Regions from separate parts of the Homo sapiens genome. Here all the other regions are linked to region 7. Evidence: promoter capture Hi-C in 16 types of primary human blood cells and fetal thymus (Javierre and others, 2016). All regions are on one chromosome and are shown on one strand. The core of a region is centred on a gene start or on the middle of the fragment in contact, and the rest is flanking DNA. Distances in the headings are between cores, read along the strand shown.

The links. The method cuts DNA at HindIII sites, captures the fragments that hold promoters and counts their contacts. A CHiCAGO score of 5 or more calls a contact.
Region 1: a fragment that was not itself captured here is called in contact with the fragment with the promoter of NOD1 in region 7 in 4 of 17 cell types (total CD4 T cells, neutrophils, activated CD4 T cells and 1 more); the score reaches 8.3 in total CD4 T cells.
Region 2: a contact is called between a fragment that was not itself captured here and the fragment with the promoter of NOD1 in region 7, in 8 of 17 cell types (naive B cells, total B cells, activated CD4 T cells and 5 more). The highest score is 11.5, in naive B cells.
Region 3: a contact is called between a fragment that was not itself captured here and the fragment with the promoter of NOD1 in region 7, in 3 of 17 cell types (neutrophils, total B cells and total CD8 T cells). The highest score is 8.9, in neutrophils.
Region 4: a fragment that was not itself captured here is called in contact with the fragment with the promoter of NOD1 in region 7 in 11 of 17 cell types (total B cells, non-activated CD4 T cells, naive B cells and 8 more); the score reaches 16.0 in total B cells.
Region 5: a fragment that was not itself captured here is called in contact with the fragment with the promoter of NOD1 in region 7 in 9 of 17 cell types (neutrophils, total CD4 T cells, non-activated CD4 T cells and 6 more); the score reaches 10.8 in neutrophils.
Region 6: the fragment with the promoter of SCRN1 here is called in contact with the fragment with the promoter of NOD1 in region 7 in 6 of 17 cell types (neutrophils, naive B cells, total B cells and 3 more); the score reaches 10.1 in neutrophils.

Annotation. Positions count from the first base shown.
Region 1 is chr7:30,007,682-30,010,381 of GRCh38, forward strand. FKBP14-AS1 (FKBP14 antisense RNA 1) reads left to right here. Exons shown (of 3, transcript NR_187577.1): 2 at 547-696. It also overlaps a transcript of FKBP14 not described here. Among named protein-coding and RNA genes, the nearest start is that of FKBP14, 18 kb to the right of the region's middle. The HindIII fragment of the contact is 3,733 bases long and covers 1-2,700 here.
Region 2 is chr7:30,076,977-30,079,676 of GRCh38, forward strand. It overlaps PLEKHA8 (pleckstrin homology domain containing A8), which reads left to right. Exons shown (of 14, transcript NM_001197026.2): 14 at 1,614-2,700. The coding sequence ends at 1,811. Among named protein-coding and RNA genes, the nearest start is that of PLEKHA8, 50 kb to the left of the region's middle. The HindIII fragment of the contact is 843 bases long and covers 848-1,690 here.
Region 3 is chr7:30,054,112-30,056,811 of GRCh38, forward strand. PLEKHA8 (pleckstrin homology domain containing A8) reads left to right here. Exons shown (of 14, transcript NM_001197026.2): 8 at 598-754; 9 at 1,146-1,231. Among named protein-coding and RNA genes, the nearest start is that of PLEKHA8, 27 kb to the left of the region's middle. The HindIII fragment of the contact is 6,410 bases long and covers 1-2,700 here.
Region 4 is chr7:30,115,754-30,118,453 of GRCh38, forward strand. It overlaps a transcript of PLEKHA8 not described here. Among named protein-coding and RNA genes, the nearest start is that of MTURN, 18 kb to the right of the region's middle. The HindIII fragment of the contact is 1,351 bases long and covers 723-2,073 here.
Region 5 is chr7:30,035,311-30,038,010 of GRCh38, forward strand. All of the region lies in intron 1 of PLEKHA8 (pleckstrin homology domain containing A8), which reads left to right. Among named protein-coding and RNA genes, the nearest start is that of PLEKHA8, 8.2 kb to the left of the region's middle. The HindIII fragment of the contact is 7,809 bases long and covers 1-2,700 here.
Region 6 is chr7:29,988,408-29,991,107 of GRCh38, forward strand. SCRN1 (secernin 1) reads right to left here and starts at 1,394. Exons shown (of 8, transcript NM_014766.5): 1 at 1,235-1,394. FKBP14-AS1 (FKBP14 antisense RNA 1) reads left to right here and starts at 249. Exons shown (of 3, transcript NR_187577.1): 1 at 249-386. RefSeq lists silencers at 621-740, 831-1,100, 1,111-1,160, 1,181-1,520. The HindIII fragment of the contact is 11,019 bases long and covers 1-2,700 here.
Region 7 is chr7:30,477,460-30,480,159 of GRCh38, forward strand. NOD1 (nucleotide binding oligomerization domain containing 1) reads right to left here and starts at 1,325. Exons shown (of 14, transcript NM_006092.4): 1 at 1,147-1,325. RefSeq lists an enhancer at 821-1,565 and a silencer at 1,214-1,453. The HindIII fragment of the contact is 7,069 bases long and covers 1-1,770 here.

The DNA.
Region 1 (2,700 bases), core at 75-2,574, 470 kb before region 7:
GTAGTGAAGTTATCTGTCCCTCAAATTCAGGTTTTTGGACCACCTGCATCAGGGTCACCAGCAAGCATGTTAAAATGCAGACTCAGGCCCAGCGTGATGGCTCACACCTGTAATCCCAGGACTTTGGGAGGCTGAGGTGGGGGGATCACTTGAGGTCAGGAGTTCAAGACCAGTCTGGCCAACATGGTGAAACCTGGACTCTACTAAAAATACAAAAATTAGCCGGGCACGCTGGCATGCACCTTTAGTCCCAGCTACTTGGGAGGCTGAGGCAGGAGAATCGCTTGAACCTGGGAGGCAGAGGTTGCAGTGAGCTGAGATTGTGCCACTGCACTCTAGCCTGGGTGACAAAGCAGGACTCTGTCTCAACAACAACAAAAACTGCAGATTCACAGGCCCAATCCAATAATTAATGAGAATCTTTGGGGATTCAGGAATCTGCACTTTTAATACACCCCATGTGATTCTGCCATGCACTAAAATGTGAATCACCGCTACATTTCTGCAACCTTTAAAAACTAAGGTGTGTGTCTCATTTTACTTCAGGACGGAGCCCTGACAGCAATGTTTGCTACGGCCTCCCTCTGCAGTCAGCCTAAAGCAAGGAGCTGGAGGTAGATGAGGCAAAGGTAAAGGAGACCAAAACAGTATTTTAAAGAAAAAATCATTTATCTTCAAATAGGCTCCAAACCTAAGGTAAGAATGTATTGATTTCATTGTACTAAAGGGAATACACAAACCTACTAAAAAGAATGCTGGCCAGGCACGGTGGCTCATGCCTGTAATCCCAGCACTGTGGGAGGCCGAGGTGGGGAGATCATCTGAGTTCAGGAGTTCGAGACCAGCCTGACCAACATGGTGAAACCCAATCTCTACTAAAAATACAAAAATTAGCTGAGTGTGGTGGCATGTGTCTGTAGTCCCAGTTACTCAGGAGGCTGAGGCGGGAAGATCACTTGAACCTGGGAGGTGGAGGTTGCAGTGAGCTGAGATTTAAAAAAAAAAAAAAAGCCGGCCAGGTGCGGTGGCTCATGCCTGTAATCCCAGCACTTTGGGAGGCCAAGGCAGGCCGATCACGAGGTCAGGAGATCAAGACCATCCTGGCTAACACGGTGAAACCCGTCTCTACTAAAAATACAAAAAAATTAGCCGGGCGTGGTGGCAGGCGCCTGTAGCCCCAGGCTGAGGCAGGAGAATGGCATGAACCCAGGAGGCAGAGCTTGCAGTGAGCCAAGATCCTGGGCGACAGAGCGAGAATCCGTCTCCAAAAAAAAAAAAAGAATGCTAAGGATGCTAAGACACAGAAGTACTAGAAATACTATAATAGTAATGCATAGTAATGCTTTTAAATGGGCATATGTGTTTATAATCATTTTGACATCTTAGATTTCAATTTAAGGTAAAATGGGCAAGAAACAAAAAACAAAAATTCTTATGTCCAAGTGCTCTGCATCTCTGGAAAAGAAGTTCTTTTTTATTTTCCCAGGGTTATTATTATAATGCTAATTTACTTTTTTAGTTTTTTGTTTCTCCCTGCATCCGATAGTGCTATAATTTTTTTTTTTTTTTGAGATGGAATCTTGCTCTGTCACTCAAGCTGGAATGTAGTAGCACAATTTTGGCTCACTTCAACCTCCACCTCCCAGGTTCAAGTGATTCTCCTGCTTCAGCCTCCCTAGTAGCTGGGATTACATGCGTGCACCACCATGCCTGGCTAATTTTTGCATTTTTAGTAAAGACAGGGTTTCACCATGTTGACCAGGTTGGTCTCGAGCACCTGACCTCAAGTGATCCCCCCGCCTCAGCGTCCCAAGGTGCTGGGAGTACAGGCATGAGCCACCACACTCGGCATATAATTTACCTTTTTAATAAAAAGGTAAGAGAATATATTTTCCCATAACATGCCACCAAATTCCTTTTTCTCCTCTTGCAATTTCCAAACACTGAGAAATCACCCATATATACACAGTTCAATGGGGAGAGATAGCATGCTGACCTCTATGTAGCATTAGAAATATAAGCAATAGGCCGGGCGTGGTCCCTCACGCCTGTAATCCCAGCCCTTTGGGAGGCTGAGGCAGGCGGATTACCTGAGGTCAGGAGTTCGAGACCAGCCTGACCAACATGGAGAAACCCTGTCTCTACTAAAAAAAAAAAAAAAAAAAAAATTAGCTGGGCGTGGTGGCGCATGCCTGTAATCCCAGCTACTGGGGAGGCTGAAGCAGGAGAATCGCTTGAACCTGGGAGGCGGAGGTTGTGGTCAACCAAGATCGCGCCACTGGACTCCAGCCTGGCAACAAGAGCGAAACTGTGTCTCAACAACAACAAAAGAAAAAAAATAGAAAAGAAATATAAGCAATATCCCACACATCATTAATAAAATAAAAACTACAAATTCATTTCCATAAGGAAAGATCCAAATGGCTAGATTCTTCATCTGAATCAGAAATCATTGTTTCTCGTTATTTTCATGGCAACCCCGCATTTCGTTTAATCAGAGGGTATTTTATAGCACTGATTTACGCAGTAGGCATAAATCAGTGTGTCCACCTGCTACACACGATAAAACCCTAAACCAAAACAACAGTGATAATAACCATCACCCTCCCTCCTCCCCCTCGAAAAACCAAAAACACTTTCTTCAGTGCTAAGAATTAACTATTAACTATCATGCTAAAGGTCAAGACTTAATGCATATTT
Region 2 (2,700 bases), core at 19-2,518, 400 kb before region 7:
GGCTGCCTCCATCTTGGTCACTAACTAGCCTTCATTTGACCTTTTTGGTTTCCTCTTCAATCAGACTAGACAGTTGAACTCTATTACTGGTTCTCCCCTTTTTTTTCTAGAGTGCTGATGGCTGAGTGTAGAATTCTAGGTTAATAAACATTTTCCCTCCAAATTTTGAAGGCATTCCTCTATTGTCCTCCAGCTTCTACTGTTACTATTGTGAAATCCTATTCTATTATATATAATCTGTTCCTTGTCCCTTTCGAAATGTTTTAGATTGTTTTTCCCCACATTCTGAAATTTCATGATGTGCCCTTTTGGTCTTTATCATTCATTATGCTGAGCACTTGATTAGGTCTTTAAATCTGGAGACTCCTATCCTCCAGTTCTGGGAGATTTTCTTTTGTTATGTTTTTGGATAACTGCCTTCTCTTAATTTTCAGTTTTCCCACTCGCTTGTACTTTGACCATTATCTTAAGTATTTATCATGTGCCAGGCAGTGGGCTAAACACTTCCTACAGATCCCATTAATGCTTAAAATAAGGAAAGTGGTATTAGTCTTCTTCTATAAATAAGGAAACTGAGATTCTAGGAAGTTAAGCACTTTGCATAAATTCCTCAAACTGGTATGTGAAAGATCTGAGATTCAAGTCCAGGTCTGCTTCATCTAAGTCTGTGCTTTAGCCACTGCATGATAATGCCAGTCACTCTCTTACTGCAAAAATGGGGAGGTCTGATTCTCAAAGACTTTCAAAGTATAAGGAAGATCAGGAAAGCAACTGTGGAATGATAATTCAAGATTCTTCAAAAAGCCTCTGCTGAGATCTAGTGACCGCCAGAAAACAGATTTTAGCAAGCTTAGGAAATATTGGCCCGCAAAGGAAGAGAAGGATAAGATGCCTAGGAAATCTGTTAGGCAAGTGGCATAATATGGTGGTGTGGTTGAAAAACACAGAGATGATCCAAGTTCAGATCCTAGCCCTGGCACTCATTAGCTGTATGACGTTTATATATAAAATAGAGATATAAACTGTACAGGGTTCTTATAAAGATCAGCTAGAATAAACTATGTTAAAGCATCAGCGCACAAGCAAACAATAAATGTTAGCTCCCTTCCTTTCTAGAAAGCATTCAAGAGTGCAAAGGAAAGATTATTCTTATGGGGGAAAAATAGAAGATACGCAAAGAAATATATAGAGATGAGATACAAATAAGAGAATGAGATGCCCCAGAAGACAGGCCATGTGGGAATAAAGACCATGATGGCAACATGCATATAGATTCTGAGGATTTGAGGGGAATAGTCTGGATCACACTGTGGATCAGAAGGGAGCTTTTCTCAGACTCTCTCTCTCAGCATTCCCTGATGTGATAGCATTATTTATCCTTAAGGTGGCCCAAGTACATGCTTGTTTCTTCTAGCCTTAAAGTTATTTGAATTGGCCCTTGAAACATAATTTTAGAGAAGCCACAAATTAGAAGGGTAGTCATATTTCTTTACTCTTGCTCTTCTCAGCTGTTTGTATGTGTGAAAGTATGTGTGTGTGCATGTGCACATGCATAAAAATAAGAGTGTGAGAGACAGACTTGATGCAGATTCTCATGGGTTATTCTTTTGCAGTTAGCTTTAAGGGCAGCTCCATCCTATGAAGATTTTGTGGCCGCGTTAACCGTAAAGGAAGGTGACCACCAGAAAGAAGCTTTCAGTATTGGGATGCAGAGGGACCTCAGCCTTTACCTCCCTGCCATGGAGAAGCAGCTGGCCATACTGGACACTTTATATGAGGTCCACGGGCTGGAATCTGATGAGGTGGTATGATGGCTGCTGGGCAGCACCTCCTAACTTCAGGGAATAAGTGCTAAAGTGTTTTGTTGCCCTACTTAATTTCCAGCAACAGCCTCAACCCTCTCCAACCCCTTCACCTGGGGGGATGGACAGGAGGTGGCAAAACCCAGTGCTTTTATAATTTTTAAAATGCATATGTGTTTTGTTTAAAGATCAAGGTGCTATATATTTCAGTTCAGCAGGCCTACTGGAAACCAAATGATAAGCTGCTGTAGACTTGAACAGCAAGTTATAAGAGCAGATTTAACAAACAAATTTGCTGTTATTGTGTATTGTATTGTTTTTATATTTTAGTCTAATGGGCCACCCAAACCCAAGCTGAAAATCAGCAAATTCCATATTAAGTACCATAATTCATAGCCAGTGTTTCAGCCAACTTAGACTAGACATTTGGAGGTAGTATAAGCTGCTTTGTTGAAGCTGTGTAGAGTTTGCTGTTCCTAGATGTTCTTCAGTGGACCCTCTTCACTGCAACTCTGTCAGTGATAAGGGCCTGTGTAGTAAAGATGTTCAGGGCATTCACATGACCATGCAATTGTGGGAGGCGAAGAAGACGTGGACAGGAGTCCCATCCTTGCTGACAGGCATGAAACCGTTGCTCTGAGAAGATTAATGGTGTGCCCTAGCCCCAAGTTGGAGGGGAGAATATGAGAGAGGTGGGACAGGTCATTTGAGATGACACCTCCCAACTGCCTACCATTTACCAGCATGTTCCCCATGCATTATCTCAATTGGACATCACAAGTAATGATACCCAGAGGGATTATTACTCCACTTCAAAAGCAAGGTTTAGAAGTTGAGGGATCTGTTCACAGTCACATAGTTTTTAAGCAGAGGAGCCAGATAATTTCCAAGTGTGACC
Region 3 (2,700 bases), core at 199-2,698, 420 kb before region 7:
AAAATGCACAAACATGCATAAAATGTGGCACTAAGTAAGGACATTTGTCTATACTATGAGAGCTGAAACAAGAAGGCAGAACATCACATTGCTCTACCTCAGCTAGGAATATGTGTGTCCGGCAACAAAGTTTTCACCACTTTGCACGTGTCCACAAATGTCTGCAAAAGTGCCGCATGTATTGATTTTGGGGTTACAAAATAAATTTTAGCAAGTAGACAAATTCACAAATACATATAGAATGTGCTAATAATGAGTAGTGATTGTATTTATAATTGTAAAATTTTGGAAGCTACCTAAGTGCCCCTCATGGATATGATACAATATAACATGGTCATTAAAATCATGTTTTTGAAGGGTTGAATGATAATGAAAATATTCATGATACATTGTTTAGTGAAAGCAAGCAGGATTCAAATCTACACATACTTCAAGTTTTGTTTGTGTGTGTAGATGTATGTTTATGTATATGTGAATAGTGTTTCATGAATTTTTATTTCTATGTATTTTTCTGTGTTTTAGAAATTTTCAACAATCAATATGTATTTTTATAATAAATATATAATAGGTTAGTAATAGATATTTTCTACTTTGCAGTCCAAGGTGAAATAAGGAAGGAAGATGGAATGGAAAACCTGAAAAATCATGACAATAACTTGACTCAGTCTGGATCAGACTCAAGTTGCTCTCCGGAATGCCTCTGGGAGGAAGGCAAAGAAGTTATCCCAACTTTCTTTAGTACCATGAACACAAGGTATTCTAGACTCTTTAATATCACTGATGCTTGGATACTAACTTCCATTCTGGAAAATCAGTCATGGTGTTCCTTTCAGGTGATGGCATATTCTAGGAGAATAGAGAATGTGGTATACCAAGTACCTGCTTTACTGTTTACTCTTTCTTACCAATGAATAAGAAGGAATTCATTGTGAAGTGTGCTCTGTGAACAAATGTTAGCTTGCTTTGGTGGATTATCTTTGGAAATTTATTTTATGAGACCATATTAGAAAAACAGTTACTGGGGCATATCAAGTCAAACGATTTGCCCTACAGAGAGGCAGCTGTGTCTATGACTTACCTCTGAATTGCAGAGTGCTGATACTGTATTTTCAATCTTTTCTCCTCCATATCACCAAATTATGTAGCTTTAGTGACATTGAACTTCTGGAAGACAGTGGCATTCCCACAGAAGCATTCTTGGCATCATGTTATGCTGTGGTTCCAGTATTAGGTAAGATTCCTGCAGTTGCCTTACATTCATTCATGTCTAGAATCTGCCTCACTGTAGTTATTTTGCAGGAGAAATACCCCAAACTATGTGTACAGTGAGATGACCCTTGGCTATTTGTTCAAATCACCAGACACATACAGTTAAAACTGTGTGACCTTAAGCATTATTGCATATTCCCATTTCATTTCTAATAATGATTAAATATTGACCTCAAAATAATGTAATTTAAAAGGGGGATCTTTCTAGAAACCATACATAAAAGTAAAAAAAGTATTTGAGGAATAGACCTTCAAATATATTGGCACTGTGAAAAAATGTGTTTTACCAGTTAAAACTTTTTTGAGACAGGCTCTTGCTTTGTTGCCCAGGCTGGAGTGCAGTGGCATGATCTCTGTTCACTGCAAACTTCACCTCCCAGGCTCAAGCAATCCTTCCACCTCAGCCTTCTTGGTAGCTGGACTATATGCGCATGCCCGGCTAATTTTTGTATTTTTTGTGGATATGGGTTTCGTCATGTTGCCCATACTGGTTTGGAACACCCGGGCTCAAGTGATCCTTCCCTCCCAAAATGTGAGCCACCATACCCAACCAAAACATATTTTCTTTTTTTTTTTTTTTGAGACGGAGTCTTGCTCTGTCACCCAGGCTGCAGTGCAGTGGCGGGATCTCCACTCACTGCAAGCTCCGCCCCCCAGGTTCATGCTGTTCTCCTGCCTCAGCCTCCCGAGTAGCTGGGACTTCAGGTGCCTGCCACCACACCTGGCTAATTTTTTTGTATTTTTAGTAGAGACAGGGTTTCACTGTGTTTGCCAGGATAGTCTTGATCTCCTGACCTCGTGATCCGCCTGCCTTGGCCTCCAAAAGTGCTGGGATTACAGGTGTGAGCCACCACGCCCGGCCTGCAAAACATATTTTCAAAGATTTTTAAAGATATATTCTCTCTCTCTCTCTCTCTCTCTCTCTCTCTCTCTATATATATATATATATATAAATAACATATATATAATATATATAACACATATATATATAAATAACATATATATAATATATATAACACATATATATAACATACATATATATGTAAATAAATAAAATGTATGTTATGGCTGGGCACAGTGGCTCACGCCTGTAATCCCAGCACTTTGGGAGGCTGAGGTGGGCGGATCACCTGAGATGAGGAGTTTGAGACCAGCCTGGCCAACATGGTAAAACCCCGTCTCTACTAAAAATACAAAAATTAGCTGAGTGTGGTGGCGCGCACCTGTAATCCCAGTTACTCAGGAGGCTGAGGCAGGAGAATTGCTTGAACCTGGGAGACGGAGGTTGCAGTGAGCCGAGATTGCACCACTGCACTCCAGCCTGGATGACAGACAGCCTGTCTCAAAAAAAAAAAAAAAAAAGTGTGTGTGTGTGTGTGTGTGTGTGTGTGTGTGTGTGTGTGTGTATATATATATGTTATGTGTATATAT
Region 4 (2,700 bases), core at 148-2,647, 360 kb before region 7:
ACATACATGTATACACGTATGCATGCATACATACGTGCACATACATGTATACACGCATGCATGTATACATGCGTGCACATACATGTATACACGTATGCATACATACGTGCACATACATGTAGGCACGCATACATGCGTATACATGCATGTATACATGCATGCGTGCGTGTACATACATGTATACATGCACACATACGCATACATGCATGCATACATGTGCATGCATGCATGTATGCATACGCATACATACGCATACATACGCATACATACGTATACATACATGTGCGCATACGCATACATACGTATGCATACGTATACATGTATACATACGCATACATACGTATACATACGCATACATACACGTATACATGTGTATACATATGTATACATACGCATACATACACGTATACATGTGTATACATATGTATACATACGCATACATACACGTATACATGTATACATATGTATATACGTATACATGTATGCGTATACATGTACACGTATACATGCATACATGTATGTATGTATACATGTATGTATTCATACATGTATACATATATACATACACATATGTGTGTATGTATATATGTACTATATAACTTGATTCATGTGTGAATATCTGTTTACATGTGCGATTTTTCACCTAATAGTGTATTGTATTTTTCTTACATCATTAAAATTCATTAAAGAACAAACAACTGAAGAAAAACTTCTGCCTTAGAAGCTTAAGGATAAATGAGGGGCATCTTCTTGCATATATTTGATTAGCTGTTCTGCAAATCTACTCTTCTGCACCTAGCAACCTAGAAATAAAAAAGGGAATAGCTGCACTAAGAGCCCTAGAATCCTAATTAACATTGTGCCGCTGATAGATGCCTTACATTTAAAGCAAGATCATGTTGTTTCTCTCCCATATAAATGATTTTCATTGACTGTTCTGAATAACTTTATATTTCCGGTCTCCAATTTGCTGCAACTAAATCTTAGCTACTCCCCCATTCTGGCTTTCTTGTTGAAAATTGCTCTCTGAGCAAAACCTGGAATGTCTGAAGTCGTTCCCCAACACAGTTGCTAGAGATGGGCTGTGAAATAACAGAATTTAGCAGCAAGTCTCTCCACAGGCCAGTGTATAAAAAGGATCTGAAACCTAGGCTGGGAATGACAAGTATGCTAGAGGGAATGGCACTCCCCTGCCCGCCTTCCAAAAGCAGTTTGGCTTCAGGAGAGTGGGTGTGTGTTTCACTTGGTCTTGCAAATGTAGGTCTAACTTTGTCACCGCCTTTCCGTCTGCCTTCCAGCATCTGTGCCCAGTTGACGTAATGACTGTGGAAGGCAGATTGAACGTTATTAAGGAGACAGCCTGGAAATTGTGAGAGGCAGGCAGGGTCAAGGATAGAAAGCATTTTTGGGAGACTGGGGTTCTCAGCTCACAGTAATTGAGAAATCGATTCAAACTCATGCCATACAATGAAATTATATGTGTGTGTGCATTTCCTAGAAGTTACCCCATGGCCCTTCCCACTTAAGTTAGCACTATACAATGTCTTGGCCAAATGAATTTGAGTTCCAAGTTAGGTTCTTGAGACTTAAATTAGTTCCAAGTTAGTTTCTTAAAATTTGTAGTAGAAATAATAGCCTTAAAATGTAATTTATTAAAAATTAAATTTAGGGCCAGGCACGATGGTTCCTGCCTGTAAGCCTAGCACTTGGGGAGGCTGAGGTGGGAGGATTGCTTTAGCTCAGGAATTTGAGACCAGCCTGGGCAACATAGTGAGACCTTATCTCCACTAAAATAAAAAAATTAGCCAGGCATGTTGGCACACACCTGTAGTCCCAGATACTCAGGAGGCTGAGGCGAGAGGGTCACTTGAGCCCAGGAGTTCAAGGCTGCAGTGAGCCATGATCATGCCACTGTACTCCATCCAGCCTGTGTGACAGAGCAAGACCCCCCTCCAGAAAAAAATTAAAATCTTTAAAAAACAACAGTTTTGATTTACAACTGCCAGAATTTATGAGAAAAATAATTTTAAGTTTCAAAAGTTTAGTGTGCACACTAAAAAAATGAAGGCACAAAGCTTATGTTGCCAACAAGATATTAGAAACAGAAGTATAACTACACAACTCTACTTCCTGTAGATTAAAGATTGCCAAGACTTTATTCATATTTTTATTTTTTAAAAAATTTAAAAACTGAGACGTGGATTCATTTCTAACAGGGACACACAAATGTCTGATGGTGGCCCAGGAGGGCTGTCACTCAGAATCAGGCGGGTGCAGAGTGGCCTGCAGGACATGATGACCCAGCATGAGACAGGATGCATCACATCTGGGTGACGCCTCTCTCCAGGGGATCAGCCTGGACTAAATGCCTCTCCTGGGCCAGGATGCCCAGCAAGCCCCGAGATGCCTCCTGGAGAGAAGGAAGTATGTGAGAGTATCCTGAGTTAAGTGAGATCTAAAATGCCTGAGAAAACCCTGAAATGACTGAGTCTATCTGGAACTTATTTGATTGTTTTTCTGCCATCAGATAGAATGAGGTCTCAAAAGAGAAATTAAATTATATTACAAGAAAATAAAGCTCAATTGCTTGCCTATTTGAGTTTGTGGCCTGTGAAAATCTTGCCCACCAAACTACGAGAAGCAACATGAGGGGCTTTATAATAACTCTGCAGGTAGGTGGACAGCTCATGGAATCCAAGG
Region 5 (2,700 bases), core at 74-2,573, 440 kb before region 7:
CTTACTGTTAGCAGTTTCTGGGTCGTGCCCATTAGTGTCAGACACTCTGCAGACATGCTCCACTGTGTACCAGGCAGGTTCATAGTTCACTTTAAGGGTAGGTTAATTAGATCACTGTTTTGATTAATGATGCCCAGAAAATTTAGTCTCTGTGTATTCAGCTTTCTATTTGCAAATTGTGGTTCCTCATGGATTCTTTTTCATATAATTATTGGCCATTGCTGTCTCTTCCATTGTGAAGTGTCTGTTCAAATCTTTAACCTATTTTTAAAAGTTAATTGTTCTTTTTATTATTGAGTTGTGAGAGCTCTTTATATATTCTTATTTACTTATTTATTTATTTATTTATTTTGAGATGGAGTGTTGCTCTGTCGCCCAGGCTGGAGTGCAGTGGCACAATGTCGGCTCACTGCAACCTTCGCCTCCCGGGTTCAAGCAGTTCTCTACCTCAGCCTCCCAAGTAGCTGGGATTACAGGCGCCTGCCACCAAGCCCGGCTGATTTTTTTTTGTATTTTTAGTAGAGATGAGGTTTCACCATGTTGGCTAGGCTGGTCTTGAACTCCTGACCTCGTGATCCACCCTTCTTGGCCTCCCAAAGTGTTGGGATTACAGGCATGAGCCACCTCGCCCGGCCATATATTCTTAATTAAAATTCCATTGTAGACCAGGCATGGTGGCTCACACCTGTAATGCCAACACTTTGGGAGGCCGACATGGGCAGATCGCTTGAGGCCAGGAGTTTGAGACCAGCCTGGCCAACATGGTGAAGCCCCGTCTCTACTAAAAATACAAAAATTAGCTGGGCGTGATGGCACACGACTGTAATCCCAGCTACTTGGGAGGCTGAGGCACCAGAGTCGTTTGAACCCAGAAGGTGGAGGTTGCAGTGAGCTAAGGGGTTGCAGTGAGCCAAGATCACACCTGTGTTCCAGCCTGGGCAACAGAACGAGACTCTGTTGCAAATAAATAAATAGATAGATAGATAGATAGAGTGAGACTGTGTCTCAGATAGATAGATGGATAGATGGGTGACAGAGCAAGACTGTCACAAATAGATAGTGTAAGATTCTGTCTCAGGTAGATAGGATAGGATAGAATAGATAGATAGATAGATAGATAGATAGATAGATAGATAGATAGATAGATAGATAGATTAGATAGAGAAATAATGCCCAGAGGAATTAAGTAGTGTCCTTAAGATGACATACCTGGATGTTATGAGTCTGAACTTAAACCATGGTTTCCTCACTCCGTTGTTTTAAGGTGCTGGTAGGACATATGAGAAGCACTGTGCAGAACAAATAAATATTTAGTTTGGTAGCTCAAAGTGCACAGGAGAGGTGACCTACATCTTCTAGCAGAAGGTTTTAAAGAGAATTTGATATAATCTATTGTAATTATAGTCTTCTTACCATCTACATGGTAGACTCTCCAGTAGTCTGTCACTCCTTGAGGCTGGGATCTTTTCTCTAAATCTCCAAACCTGGCAAACTACAACTGCTCAGAAAATGCTTTGTGAATTAATTAATGGTAAATTAAGAAGCCTATAATTTAGCTAATGCTTGGGTAACTGTTACAATGAGGAGTGTTTCTTCATTCTTCCCTCCTCCCTAGCTACAACAGAACTCTTAACTGACTGACCTGGCAGAGGAACCCAAGGCTTTGCTGTCCGCATCCCTGTCTGGAACTCCCCTAGAGAAGCTGAGTGGGGGAGGGCTCTAATGGGATGAGGTGTGGCTGAGCGCTTAGGTTGGATATTGGAAAACACCAAGGCTATGGAGGTCAGGGGTAGCAAATTAATTGCTCTGCTTTGCTTCAATTTAAAATGGTAGATTATTTCACTATTAACATATCTATATAGCATACATAATATATGATATGATAATATATATGGGTTATGAACGTAGAAACCATAATTTATAATGAATAAATTGTCTTGACTCAACATTTCAGATTGTCAGTCCTATCAAGACATTTAATTTCACTTTTTTTTTCTTGGCATTAGTTACTTTCTCTGTTTTTATTTAAAAAAATTTGTTTGGAAACAGGGTCTCGCTATGTTGCCCAAGCTGGTCTTGAACTCCTGGCCTCAACTGATCCTTCTGCCTCATGAGCCACTGTACCTGGCAGTTACTATCTCTTGAATCAGATTCTGGGAAAGATGGGAGTTTTCTGTTATTTTGTATTAGGATAGGTTTTGAAAGCTGAGAGAGACTTCTAGGCATCATCTAAACTCCAGCTGAAATTTTGTAGAAAAGGAAACTAAAGCTGAAAGAAGTTTAGGGACTTAACCTTTTCTTTCTCCCATTCTGTTCCCCCTTTATTATGGTCACTAATTTTTCCTCTTATTGTTAATGAAAAAGCACCTTTCCTTCACTTTTTTTCTTTACTTTTGGCTAACTTTTCTAGAAAGAGTTTAAATAGTCCCTTTTCATTTTTTTTTTCTGCATTTCTACACAACAGTAGTTCTTATGGATTTTTTTTCTTTTAGTCTTGAACTTTAAGTTCAGGGGTACATGTGCAGGTTTGTTACATAGATAAATGTGTGCCATGGTCATTTGCTGTACAGATCATCCCATCACCTAGGTATTAAGCCCAGCATTCATTAATTTTTCCTGATCCTCTTCCTCCCCCAACCCCCTCTTAAGGATTTTAAAAATTCACAATATGTTAAATTTTTAATTGTTTTTCCTGTTAAA
Region 6 (2,700 bases), core at 144-2,643, 490 kb before region 7:
CAGGACCCTGCAGCACCCTAAAATCTAGCCAGCTCCAAGAATCACTCTCTACTCCATACCCGGATGAGCCTTGACTCACACTAATTCCCTCCCTGAGGCTTAAGTCAGGGGGCAGCTGATGGTTGTGGTCTGTGCTGCTTCCGCCTGGCCTATTTTTCATGCTGCCATTTTGAATTAGCATAGGTTTCCTCCGCAACTGATGCATCTTCTAACCAGGCTGGGAACACAACACGCGCACACGCGCACACACACACGCACGCACCCACCCCACCCGGCTGCCGGACGCAAGCGTAAGTCAAGGACTTGCATGCTAGAATCAGACAGAAAATCCAGAAAAGCCACGTTATTTAACAGAACCCTACAAGGTCAGCTTTGAGTCAAAGCAGGTAACAGTTTCCTTCGATGTTTTCATGGACATTTTTATTCCCAAATCCGAGTTCTCGCCAATTCTCTAAAGTTCAAGCGCCCCTCCTGCTTTGCAGACCACATTTCTCTCGGCCCTCGCGAGTGAGGTCGCCAAATACTCGACGCCTCAAGAGCGAGCCGAGGAGGCAGAGGCCGACCAAGCCGGCCTCTCGGCAGCCCCGCCCGGCGCCCCGCGGAGAACGCCCGGGTGCGGCTCGAGGGAAGTTGTGTCAAGTCCCACGCGCGGCCCGCGGAGAACCCAGGGGCGGCCCGCGCGCGTCGGCCTAGCGGGGAGGGCTGCTCCGGGACACGGTGCGGCGGCCGCGGGCGAGTTGGACGCGCTGGCAGAGCCGGGCCGAAGGCGGCGGGCGTCTCCGGGCAGCCATGTTCGCGGCGCCCGCCCGCGCAGCAGGTACGGCACCTCGGGGAAGGTGCCCGGCTCGCCCCAGACCCCAGGGTGGCGAGGCCAGGGGCCCACAGGCACATCCCAGTGGGCAGCAGGTTGGCTGCCAGGAAAAGGAAACCCAGGAAGAGCAGCGCGGGGAACCCGGCTGCGGTGCGGGAGCCCGGGGCCGGCATCCCTCCACTGCACCCCCGCAGTCCCCGAGCCGAGTCACCCCGGCTTCAGGCCGAGGCCACCTCTCCTCTGACCGCCCCCAGGCTCCCAGCCCGCCCGGGCCAGCACCGGGAATCGGCCTGGGGTAACGCTACCCGCGGGTTCGGAGGGACAGCGGGAGGAGATGAAACGCAGGAGGTGGCGATGGCGGGTGGGGTGAAACCGCCGGGAAAGCAGCGCTGCAAACGCCCTGCGCTCCCAGACGCGGCTCACCTGGGGCGGCGGGCTCCGGGCTCCGCTCTCCGCTCTGCGGTGCTGAGGCTGCGGCCGCCGAGGGTGCGGGTGCTGCCGGGTCCGGATTACTGCGGCGACCTCGGGGGCTGCAGCTGCAGTGGCGGAGGCGGCCGCCGGGCGCTTCCCCCTACCCAGACTCCCGGCGCTGGGGCCCGCCGCCCCCCGCAGCAGCTGGCCCGACTCACGTGACCGCGGGCCCACCCTCCGCCTCCCCCACCCCGGCCCCCGGGGCCCCGCCGCACCCCGCGCGTCTGGCTGCACGGGCCGCGGCGCTGCTCACCGTCGAGTAGGGAGGGGGCCTGGGAGCTGGAGGAGCGGCCGAGAGGGCGTATCTCGCCGCAGAAAGTGGCCCCCTCTTTGCTAGATTTTTATTTCTTGGTTGTGGCTCTCAAAAGGGAAAACCCGGGCTTCAAGGAGCCAGGCCCAGCATCCTTTTGGCGCCTCTTCCCGACGTTTGGTTGCTACGTCCGGGCCTCGGCGCCCACACAAGATTTCCCCGGAGAGAAATGTGTCCTGTACCTTGTTGACTCGCACGTCCAAGTCGAGTCCCTGGTTTTAAAAGTGCCGTCCTGTACCATGTTGGTAAGCCAGACCCTGTCCCAGGTACTTGGACATTGTGGCCTAGAGAGGTTAAGTAACTTGCCCAAGGTCACACAGCACGTAACTAAGCCAAGATTCCATATCTGGGTTAATAAAGTTATGTACAGGGACTTGTGTGTTGTGTGTCTGTGTGTGTGTGTGTGTGTGTGTGTTGATGCCAGCGTCAACTCCATCTTTTATAAGTAAATAAGAAAAGACTATCTCAAAAGATATGAAGACGTAATTCAGAGGAAAATAAATGCAATTCTATCCTGGCACACGAAAAGATATTCAGGCTCACTTAACTGCAAATCAAATATGTGGGGTAGCATCTTCCACCAGCCAGATTAACAAAAATCAAAACATTTTGAGTCTTGCTTTGTCGCCCAGTCTGGAATGCAGTGGCAGGATCTCGGCTCACTGCAAACTCCGCCTCCTGCCTCCCGCCTCCCGCCTCCCGCCTCCCGGGTTCAAGCGATTCTCGTGCCTCAGCCTCCCAAGTGGCTGAGACTACAGACCCACGCCACCAGCCTCGCTAATTTTTTTTGATTTTTAGTAGAGATGGGGTTTCACCATGTTGCCCAGGCCGGTCTCAAACTCCTGAGCTTAGGCAATCCGCCTGCCTCTACTATCCAGCTTCCTTTAAAAAGGAGAATGATCTTTATTTGCTAATACAAAACTATTTCCAACCTATACTAACTAAAGAAAAATAAAAAGCTAGGTGCAGAACGTTGTGTGTGTTATTTGTGGGAAGAAAATATATATGTATGTCTGTACTTATTTTTGTAAATGCACAGAGTATCTTTGGAAGAGTACGTAAGAACCTGTAATAGATGCCACCAGGGAGCAGAACTGGGAGACTGGGT
Region 7 (2,700 bases), core at 75-2,574:
ACAAACTCGACCCTTTGGCAAGCACGACTTCTGGCTTCACCGTTTTTTTGTTTTTTGTTTGTTTGTTTGTTTTTGACGGAGTTTTGCTCTTGTTGCCCAGGCTGGAGCGCAACAGGGCGATCTCGGCTCACTGCAACCTCTGCCTCCCGGGTTCAAGCAATTCTCCTGCTTCAGCCTCCCGAGTAGCTGGGATTACAGGCATGCGCCACCACGCCCGGTTAATTTTTTTTTTTTTTTTTTTTAGTAGAGACGGTTTCACCATGTTGGGCCAGGCTGGTCTCGAACTCTCGACCTCAGGTGATCCGCCTGCCTTGGCCTCCCAAAGTGCTGGGATTACAGGCGTGAGCCACCGCGCCCGGCCCTGGCTTCACCCTTAAAGCAGAAAGGCCAGAAGTCATCAAGGCCATGGGTTTACTAGCTTAGCTTCCCCAGACTTAATTTCAAACACCAACAACCGAAATGTTTCCTAGAATGCAGAGCTAATGAGACATCAACCTCTGTCATTTCCTATGTTTTTCACAATGTGCCAAAACAACTGCACACATTGGAGGCGTTTTTGAATGTGATATTCAGGCGACCTTGCCAAGCATTGTCTCATTTCCTTACTTTGTGGAGCATGAAACCCAAGGGAAGTTCTCACCCTCTCTCCAGGACCAAGCAGGACACTGGGAGCTGCTGTCCCGTCTGCAGGCGGGACTCCATGAAGGCCCCTGTCTGCCCTTCCAGCCTTTGCCACAAACCCTCGAACGCTGGCTGCACACTGGAATCACTTGGGGAGCTTTTAAAAGATACGGAGGCCTGGGTCTGACTCCGTGAGATTCTGATGGAATTGATCTAGGGTGCAGCCTGGATATCTGGATTTTAAAAGCTCCCCAGGTGGTTCTAAGCTGCTGGCACGATTGAGAACCCCTGCGTTCGACCACAGTGGGATAAACGATTCCGCTGACTGTGAAGTTCATCCCTCTCAACTTTCGCTACATGCTTCAAACTCGCGGGTTTCTCCGCTTGGTTCCACCCAGAGCTCCTCCAGAGCCGCGCTGCGTTCCGCCCGCACGCAAATCCCGCCTCCCTGCGCCTCCTCACTCGCAGCGCCCAGGACCTCAGAAAGGGCCTGCCCCGCGCGAATCCCCAGTCGCTGGGACTTACTTGGCCACCAGGTTTACAGACTTCGCAGCCGCTGAGAGCTAGAGAAGAGCCCGGAGAGCGCCATGGTCCGGGGACGCCGGGGCCGGGAAGCGCCGTGGCCCGGGAGGACGCTGCTCCCGCAGTAGCGCGAGGGAGGGGCAGGACCGGGGCGGCTGCCTCGCGGGCCCGGAACGGGAACTGGCTGCGACTACAGCCGCAGCCGCGCCCCTCTGTTGGCGCGCCCAAGAGCCTGCCGGCTGCTGGGAGAGGCCGCCGAAGGGCGGGGGCGGTCAAGGCAGGGTCCCACGGTGCTGCCATTCGCCCGGGTCTGGCGCGGGGGGGCGAGAGAAGCTGCGCGCAGAGGGACGCCCGGTGCGAGAGGGTGAGCCCCTGGCCACCGCGCAGGGCCGAGTGGACAGGCCCAAGTTCGCCCAGAGGTGACACACTTGGGAATTTGTGGTGCCATCGTGCCAGGTCCCTCCTCGTAAAAGTGCCTACCCAGCGCCTGCAACCAGAGCCAAAGCCTGGACATGATAGGGAAACTCTTGTTAAAACGCGACACGTGGTCCTGATGAAATGGAGGTTAACGTAATCAAATTTAAATTACACTGCATACATTTCAATTTATACTTTTTAAAAAATGTAAGCTTTTCTTCCTATCCTTAAATTTGTTCTTGGCAGTGTACATTTTATGTTCTATGCATATGCTCTAATAGGTTGTAAAAGAGTTTTAACATGCTAATAAATGTCCCCAATAAAATAGTTTTAAAACGTTTTGAATGGGGATCGTGTCCATAAGGGATATCATGCTACAGAAAGTTGTCACTTACTCACACTGAAGAAGTACATTCAATCATATAGCCACTGATGCTTGTGAGTATTAAAATTCCCATCAGAGGCTGCCCTCTGAGAAACAGAAAGTATGTTCTTAAATCAAAAGTGAAAGTGCAAACTAAAGTTGATAGGATCAAATGTGCCAACTTGTGTCAGGCCTCTGAGCCCAAGCCTGCATGTATACATCCAGATGGCCTGAAGCAACTGAGGAATCACAAAGGTAGTGAAAATGGCTGGTTCCTGCCTTAACTGATGACATTACCTTGTGAAATTCCTTCTCCTGGCTCAGAAGCTCCCCCACTGAGCACTTTGTAGACCTTCCACCCCCCCGGCCCCCGCCTTGCCCACCAGAGAACAACCCCCTTTGACTGTAATTTTCCACTACCCACACAAATCCTATAAAGCTACCACACCCCTAACTCCCTTTGCTGACTCTTTTTTTCGTACTCGGCCCACCTGCACCCAGGTGAAATAAACAGCTTTATTGCTCACGCAAAGCCTTTTGGTGGTCTCTTCACACGGACACGTGTGACATTTGGTGCCGAAGACCCGGGACAGGAGGACTCCTTCAGGAGACCAGTCCCCTGTCCTCACCCTCACTCTGTGAGGAGATCCACCTATGACCTCGGGTCCTCAGACCAAACAGCCCAAGGAACATCTCACCAATTTCAAATCGGGTAAGCGGTCTTTTCACTGTCTTCTCCAGCCTCTCTCACTACCCTTAAATCTCCCTCTATTTCC